Linked DNA regions of Homo sapiens: all the other regions are linked to region 2. The links are contacts of gene promoters, found by promoter capture Hi-C in human tissues and cell types (Jung and others, 2019). All regions are on one chromosome and are shown on one strand. Each heading gives the region's core, a stretch centred on a gene start or on the middle of the fragment in contact. The rest is flanking DNA. Distances are from core to core; before and after follow the strand shown. Region 1 overlaps TPX2 (TPX2 microtubule nucleation factor). Region 2 holds the start of ID1 (inhibitor of DNA binding 1). Region 3 overlaps TPX2 (TPX2 microtubule nucleation factor).

Evidence for each region. The method cuts DNA at HindIII sites, captures the fragments that hold promoters and counts their contacts. A contact is called where the count stands out against the background at its distance.
Region 1: a fragment that was not itself captured here is called in contact with the fragment with the promoter of ID1 in region 2 in 1 of the 25 tissues and cell types used here (mesenchymal stem cells).
Region 3: a fragment that was not itself captured here is called in contact with the fragment with the promoter of ID1 in region 2 in 1 of the 25 tissues and cell types used here (mesenchymal stem cells).

Annotation. Positions count from the first base shown.
Region 1 is chr20:31,757,543-31,760,288 of GRCh38, forward strand. It overlaps TPX2 (TPX2 microtubule nucleation factor), which reads left to right. Exons shown (of 18, transcript NM_012112.5): 3 at 1-40; 4 at 2,515-2,637. Among named protein-coding and RNA genes, the nearest start is that of TPX2, 20 kb to the left of the region's middle. The HindIII fragment of the contact is 7,137 bases long and covers 1-2,746 here.
Region 2 is chr20:31,603,811-31,606,573 of GRCh38, forward strand. It overlaps ID1 (inhibitor of DNA binding 1), which reads left to right and starts at 1,479. Exons shown (of 2, transcript NM_002165.4): 1 at 1,479-2,003; 2 at 2,243-2,700. The coding sequence starts at 1,578. The coding sequence ends at 2,284. LOC105372588 (a long non-coding RNA gene) reads right to left here and starts at 1,385. Exons shown (of 2, transcript XR_936669.2): 1 at 1,293-1,385; 2 at 881-1,135. RefSeq lists enhancers at 103-941, 677-856, 1,246-1,916, 1,917-2,586, 2,633-2,763. The HindIII fragment of the contact is 38,824 bases long and covers 1-2,763 here.
Region 3 is chr20:31,780,393-31,783,177 of GRCh38, forward strand. It overlaps TPX2 (TPX2 microtubule nucleation factor), which reads left to right. Exons shown (of 18, transcript NM_012112.5): 11 at 1,857-1,998. Among named protein-coding and RNA genes, the nearest start is that of MYLK2, 38 kb to the right of the region's middle. The HindIII fragment of the contact is 7,023 bases long and covers 1-2,785 here.

The sequences.
Region 1 (2,746 bases), core at 209-2,708, 150 kb after region 2:
GATGATGAAGGAGATACTCAAAACATAGATTCATGGTTTGGTAAGTGCCTGCTTTCTCTGGCTATTTTAAGGATTAGTGGCTTGCTTTGTGCTGAAGACCTTTCAATAATAGAAGGGGTTGCAAGAAAAGAACTAAAATATCAACTTCTTTCTGCACCAAGACATTCTGTCATCCATGATATTATGGGAATAATTGAAATGCCCAGTATTTGGGGAATGGATTGTAAGTACAAAGCATATGTTGTTTTGTAGTTCAGAATGGCAGATTTAAGCTTTAGGGACCTATGGGAAAGTTCAGATGAACCAGTGTTCAACAAAACTCCATGCTCAAATATGTCTGTAGTGATGGCAGCCACATAAAAACTTTGTCTACTATCATTAGGGATAGATTATATCACAGCTAGGATATTGACATTCATACAATCTACCAGTTTTACTCAGATTTCTCCAGTTTTACTTGTATGTGTATTAAGTTCTCTGTGGTTTTATCACCTGTGTTGGTTTATGTGTCTACCATCACAGTCAAGATCTTTTATAATTACCCTCACCTCCCTCCTGCCACCCCTCCCTCAATTCATTTTTTTTTTTTTTTTTTTTGAGGCTGTAGTCTCGCTCTGTTGCCCAGGCTGGAGTGCAGTGGTACAATCTCAGCTCACTGTAACCTCCGCCACTCTTGTTCAAGCGGTTCTGCCTCAGCCGCCCAAGTAGCTGGGATTACAGGCGCCCACCAGCATGCCTAACTAATTTTTGTATTTTTAGTAGAGACAGTGTTTTGCCATGTTGGCCAGGCTAGTCTTGAACCCCTGACCTCAGGTGATCCACCCACCTCAGCCTCCCAAAGTGCTGGGATTACAGGCGTGAGCCACTGCGCCTGGCCCTCAATTCATTTTTAAATGGAAGGATTATGCTACTAAGAACCCATTCCCAGAAACAGTATTGCTTGGCCAATGGTAAGTAAGAATGTGGTTACATTTTTACATTACTTTGAAATAATATCTGAGACTAGTTGTTGAGGCCCCTTTGATTCTTTCTCTCATGTCTCCATCCTCCTTATCGGGAGAAATCACTATGAATATGTGGTGGGGAACAGAAGTGAGTCCATTGCAGCTGTACTTATCCGTATAGTGCACTGTCCAAATGTGTTGACAGGTGCCATTTTTTGGAAAAGGACTTTAATGGCATCTAGTGGGGATCCTGAGAGGAGTCGTCTGTTGGAAGTGGTGTGGGAGGAAGGGTAAATAAATACAAGGGCCAGCTGTCCTGCGGGGATCTTCCCCATGCCCTTGCTTCACTGGAACTGTAAGGAAATGGCTGGGCTGTCTGAGGATTTCTTTTTCTAAGCTTTTCTTTAAAATAAAAAAGAAAAGAAAAGATTAGCCTAAGAATACTGTTAAATACAATTTGGAAGAAAAAAAATGACCCCACTATTTTTCCAAAACTACCTTAGTTTTAAAACATTTTTATTTTTTTTTCTTTTTGTTTTTGCCAGAGTTCTTTTGGCTAACAAAACTACCTCAGTTTTAATATATTACTTTCCAATTTCTTTCCCAAATAAATAGTCACATCTTTCTACACAGTTGCAATCAGAATGTACATGCACAGGGTAGTTATTGCTGTGTCTCACTGCATTCCTGAAACTATCAGTAGGCTGTTGGTAGAACAGACCCTTCACTGCTTTGTACTGACTTCTGGGCACAGTAGAATCTAAGATAAAATTTCTTGAGAGAACCTAGCTCTGCTCTACCCTCACACACCCCTTATTCCTCCCACCACCCCACTGAGGAGGAAACTCTGTAAGACTATACAGTATCTCTTGTAAGCCCTACAGTTTTTGATGGTTACAGTTTTCTTTCGTTTTTTTTTTTTTTTTTTTTTTGAGATGGAGTCTTGCTCTGTCGCCAGGCTGTAGTGCAGTGGTGCGGTCTCAGCTTACTGCAAATTCCACCTTCCAGGTTCAAGCGATTCCCCTGCCTCAGCTTCTCAAGTAGCTGGGATTAAAGGCATGTGCCACCACGCCTGGCTAATTTTTTGTATTTTAGTAGAGACGGGGTTTCACCATGTTGGCCAAGACAGTCTCGATCTCCTGACCTCATGACCCACCCGCCTCGGCCTCCCAAAGTGCTGGGATTACAGGTGTGAGCCATCGCTCCCGGCTGGTTACAGTTTTCTTTAAGAGGAACATGATATATTTAGGGAGTAGATAAAGCCAGTTCATATTTGTATGACCCTAAATGTGTACCAAACAAAGATAAGGAGTTATTCACAATGCAGAATCTGTACTTTTCCTTTTTTATAATACATTGTTCAATGTTGCCAGTTTTTAGTGATTGTTCTTATAGTCTATCTCGGATGTGTAATGTGTACTTTTTCTTTTGATTGCTAGAACTTTGCTTGTACTTGCCACATGAGTTGGAAGTGTACTGGTAGGGAGCTTTAGTTTGCATTTTAAATGCGTGATAGTGATTTGTTTTGCTTCCTTGCTGATCAGACAATGATGATCTTCCCTTTTCACAGAGGAGAAGGCCAATTTGGAGAATAAGTTACTGGGGAAGAATGGAACTGGAGGGCTTTTTCAGGGCAAAACTCCTTTGAGAAAGGCTAATCTTCAGCAAGCTATTGTCACACCTTTGAAACCAGGTAAGAAAACATCTTAGAAAAAAGCTCCTTGATAGAATGGTGGGACAGTGTTTTAGAAGCCTGAGGTTCTGGGAAAATTACCTAAATGCTCTATCTCTTTGTTTATTAT
Region 2 (2,763 bases), core at 229-2,728:
GGCCTTCCAAATTGTTGGGATTACAGGCGTGAGCCACCGCGCAGCCCTTCATTTTTTAAAATAAGAAATAAATGAAAAAAGATGATCAAGACAAACTCTTCATACAGTGCCCGCTGTACAAAGTAAGAAATTAATAATGGTCACGTTTGTGATTATTATTTAAACACCAAGCAGATATTAAATATTAGGGCTCAGAGAGGGCATGCGACCCGCCTGAATTCACTCAGCTGCAGAGCTGGAAAGAGAACTCAGGCCTTTTTCCCCACGCTGGAAGGGGTAGCTGGGGCGGAGAGGTGGGGGGAGCGGTGAAGAAACCCCAAGCGGCCCAAGCTGTGGGTCTGGGTTGGGAGACTCGCAGGTGTGGGGCGGGGAGGTAAGGTGACCCTTGCTCAGCGACCGCGCCCGCAAGAAACGCATTCCCAGGCCTCCCGCCCGGGGTCTGCAGGTGACGGGCTGGGGGGAGCACGGGAACTAGCTAGACCAGTTTGTCGTCTCCATGGCGACCGCCCGCGCGGCGCCAGCCTGACAGTCCGTCCGGGTTTTATGAATGGGTGACGTCACAGGCCTGGCGTCTAACGGTCTGAGCCGCTGGTTCAGACGCTGACACAGACCGGCCCGGGAAGGGAGGGGGGAGACTGTAGCTCCGCAGCTGCCGCGCCGTGGGAGGGAGACCCTGCTCTGAGGTCTTTGAGAAGAAAATTTAAAAAGCAGCCAAAAATGGGAAAAAACATTAAAAAATCACGAACTGTTGCAGGTTCAGGAAATTTTTGCAAGGAGCTGCAAATTCAAGGTGGAATCGAATGCAGCCTCACTCCACTGCGCTCTATCTAGTTCACTTCCCAGCCACCCAGCCCCAAACTTACTAGACTTTCCCGAATTAATTGCTCCCACCCGGGAGGGATCTGGGTAGGCCCTCCGGGTCTCAGGAACACGAACAGCAACATTATTTAGGAATTGAGAAAGCCCAGGGGAGCAGATGTAAAGGAGCGCCCGCTTTAAATTTCGGTCCTGATATTTGTAGATCAGGGTCCGAGAAGCATCTTCCAAGAGGGTCCGGAAACCCAGGCTCTCTGGGCTATCCAGAGCCAGCCGCTTCTCCGTTCGGGCCTCAATTTCTCTCATCTGTGAAATGGAGCTGGAGAAGTGAGAAAGTGAATATGGGAAAAACTGATTCCTGAGGTCTTTTCATTATAAGGCAATGCCTGCTTAGCTTCCTTGCCTCCTTCCAGAGGAGCCCAGTGCGGCCCTCGCCTCTACCCGCTGCCCTGCCCGGTGCCCTGCCACCGACCCACCCTTGCTGTTCTGAAACCCGGGTCGTCTTTCCACACTGCGAGCAGGCACTAGACGAGCAGGAGGCTGGACCTAGGAGCGCGGGTCACGCCCCCATGCCGCCCATTGGCTGCTTTTGAACGTTCTGAGCCCGCCCCTCCGGGGGCCGTGGCGTGTTTATAAAAGACAAGCTGTGGCTCCGCACTCTCATTCCACGTTCTTAACTGTTCCATTTTCCGTATCTGCTTCGGGCTTCCACCTCATTTTTTTCGCTTTGCCCATTCTGTTTCAGCCAGTCGCCAAGAATCATGAAAGTCGCCAGTGGCAGCACCGCCACCGCCGCCGCGGGCCCCAGCTGCGCGCTGAAGGCCGGCAAGACAGCGAGCGGTGCGGGCGAGGTGGTGCGCTGTCTGTCTGAGCAGAGCGTGGCCATCTCGCGCTGCGCCGGGGGCGCCGGGGCGCGCCTGCCTGCCCTGCTGGACGAGCAGCAGGTAAACGTGCTGCTCTACGACATGAACGGCTGTTACTCACGCCTCAAGGAGCTGGTGCCCACCCTGCCCCAGAACCGCAAGGTGAGCAAGGTGGAGATTCTCCAGCACGTCATCGACTACATCAGGGACCTTCAGTTGGAGCTGAACTCGGAATCCGAAGTTGGAACCCCCGGGGGCCGAGGGCTGCCGGTCCGGGCTCCGCTCAGCACCCTCAACGGCGAGATCAGCGCCCTGACGGCCGAGGTGAGATCCAGATCCGACCACTAGATCATCCTTATACCGACGGGGAAACGGAGGCCAGAGAGGGCGTGGGCGCTTGCACCACTTCCGTCCCATCCTTGCGGGTACCTGGCTATGCGGGGGTGCCTAAGGAGCCTGGAAAAAGCGCTCCCCCGTCGTGCTTCCTGGGGAAGGGGGCGTTCGCTGCGCTCGGAGCGGCGTCCCTTCCAACCCGCCGGTCTCATTTCTTCTCGTTTTCACAGGCGGCATGCGTTCCTGCGGACGATCGCATCTTGTGTCGCTGAAGCGCCTCCCCCAGGGACCGGCGGACCCCAGCCATCCAGGGGGCAAGAGGAATTACGTGCTCTGTGGGTCTCCCCCAACGCGCCTCGCCGGATCTGAGGGAGAACAAGACCGATCGGCGGCCACTGCGCCCTTAACTGCATCCAGCCTGGGGCTGAGGCTGAGGCACTGGCGAGGAGAGGGCGCTCCTCTCTGCACACCTACTAGTCACCAGAGACTTTAGGGGGTGGGATTCCACTCGTGTGTTTCTATTTTTTGAAAAGCAGACATTTTAAAAAATGGTCACGTTTGGTGCTTCTCAGATTTCTGAGGAAATTGCTTTGTATTGTATATTACAATGATCACCGACTGAAAATATTGTTTTACAATAGTTCTGTGGGGCTGTTTTTTTGTTATTAAACAAATAATTTAGATGGTGGTAAAGTTGTAGTGACTTCTTGGGTTGAGGGGAGGGGCCTGGGCTGGGGGTTGACCCCTGACC
Region 3 (2,785 bases), core at 85-2,584, 180 kb after region 2:
CAAAATGATTTTGTTAGATTTTATAGTATGAAAATAATGAAATATTCTTCTTTATTCTAATGGAAATTTAAATATTAAGCATAACTTTTCAAATAATATATGACTCAGAGTCTGATATGTCCTGCTTTCAGAATACTAGTCCTGGCAAAAGGAAAGAGAAATTATATTATGCAATTTTTATTTAAAACTTTGTACAGTTACAGCTAAATAATGGTTACATGTATCTTTGAAACATGGCTTATTTCTAAAATAGATTTGGTTTTGATCTACCACTGTTATGTGACAAGACCTAAATTGAAAGATTCATTCTATATTAGTTATGAAAATTGACAAGGTTTCACTGGCCAGGTAAATTAATATTTTCAATGAGTGGTGGTGATGTCTTAATATTGATGCTTTAACATAGTTTTTAACTTTCTCCATTTGATTTTCTGTAAGATGTGGTCTTGATGCTTTTATATTGATTTCATAAAATTGGGAGTTTTCACTTGGTCTTCTTTTGTTATTTATTTATTTATTTATTTTCCTTCTTGTTTTGCTTTTTAGAGACAGGGTCTTGCTCCGTCACCCAGGCTGGAGTGCAGTGGCGTGATCATGGCTCACTTCAGTGTCCAACTCCTGGGCTCAAGCAATCCTCCTGCCTTAGCCTTCCAAGTAATTGGGACTATATATAGGTGCATGCCACCATGCTTACCTAATTTTTATATTTTCTTAGGAGACAGGGTCTCATTATGTTGCCCAGGCTGGTCTTGAGCTCCTGGCCTCAAGCAGTTCTCCTGCTTTGGCCTTCTAAATTGCTAGAATTACAGGTTTGAGCCATTCTGTTCAGGCTTTACTTGGTCTTTAGGAAGGCCTTATATCTTTTTTTTTTTTTTTTTTTTTGAGACAGAGTCTCGCTCTGTCGCCTAGGCCAGAGTGCAGTGGCGCTCATTTGGCTCACTTGGCTCACTGCATGCTCCGCCTTCCAGGTTCATGCCATTCTCCTGCCTCAGCCTCCCGAGTAGCTGAGACTACAGGCGCCTGCCACCACGCCCGGTTAATTTTTTGTATTTTTAATAGAGACGGGATTTCACCGTGTTAGCCAGGATGGTCTCGATCTCCTGACCTCGTGATCCCCCTGCCTCGGCCTCCCAAAGTGCTGGGATTACAGGCGTGAGCCACTGTGACCGGCCAGGAAGGCCTTATATCTTAAAGCTGGAATAAGCAAAAATTTTTTGTGTTAATAACAAGCAAAATAATTGGCATTGTCAATAGAAAGTATAGGCCTGGCCAGGCACAGTGGCTTAACGCCTATAATCCCAGCACTTTGGGAGGCTGAGGTGGGTGGATTGCTTGAGCCCAGTAGTTCAAGACCAGCCTGGGCAACATAGTGAAACCCTGTCTCTACAAAGAATATAAAAATTAGCTGGGCATGGTGGTGCATGCCTGTAATCCCAGCTGCTTGGGAGGCTGAGGTGGGAAGATCACCTGAGTCCAGGGAGGTTGGATTTGTAGTGAGCCTTTATGCCCCTGCACTCTAGCCTGGGCAACAGAGTGAGACCCTGTCTCAAAAAAAAGAAAGTCAGTCTAGGCCCGTGCAGTGATAAGGAACCTGTCAGACATGGATGGATTTTCAGTTCAGAAGATGACAGTAGAGTTTACCCAAAGGCTACCTTAGTCATACCCCTCAATAAAAGAGGAATAGGGGAGAAGTAACTGAATGTTGGTTGGTTTGACCAATGTAAGCTGAGCTGACTGTTGTGGGCCCACCACTCTGTGGTTGGTTTATCCCTCTCTGGGCTACATAGGTGAATCACCACTTACAAGTAAACTGGGTCTTGCGGATCTAGATGAACATCTGTCATCTCTGTTTACAGACCTGTTACCCTCCAAATCTTCTGTGACCAAGATTTGCAGAGACCCACAGACTCCTGTACTGCAAACCAAACACCGTGCACGGGCTGTGACCTGCAAAAGTACAGCAGAGCTGGAGGCTGAGGAGCTCGAGAAATTGCAACAGTAAGTCCCACTGGCAGTATCTGAGGAAGAGTTCCACGAACCTGCCTACTTTATTTTCAGTTCTGTTAGGGTGACAGTTGCTATTTTTCTTTCCGTAAAAATTTATGGCATTTGAGTAGTAGGCTCTGCAGGCTACGCCCCTGCCTATATGATTTAAGGACTATAGTGGGAATATGGAGATGTTCTGGAGTATAAACTGGTAAAAATTGAATCCAGGCTGGGTGTGGTGGTTCACACCTGTAATCCCAGTACCTTGGGAGGCCGAGGCAAGAGGATCACTTGAGTCCAGGAGTTTGAGACCAGCCTGGGCAACATGGTGAAACCCCATCTCTACAACAAATACCAAAAAAAAATTAGCTGGGCATGGTGGCATGCGTCTGTAGTCCCACCTACTAGGGGGCAGCCTGAACCCAGGAGGTCAATGCTTCAGTGAGCCAAGATCACGCCAATATACTCCAGCTTGGGTGACAAAGCGAGACTGTCTTGCACATACACACATACACACACACACACACACACACACACACACACACACACACACAAAATCTAATCCAGAGGTTGCAGTAGAAGAACTTACTTAGGATTTCAATTAAGGAATGCCCTCTAAGGTTAAGTTAGGTAGATCCCACCCTTTTGTGACTCCCCAAGGGATTGTTACAGCTATTATTAGTGGAGGGAAATGGAAACTTAGTGTGATTCGTAGCATTGGAGTTTATTTCCTGTATCCTTCTTCCATTCCTTTTTGTGCTTCTTTTGAGGAGGGGGAGCTTCTTCTGTGAAGTGAAGC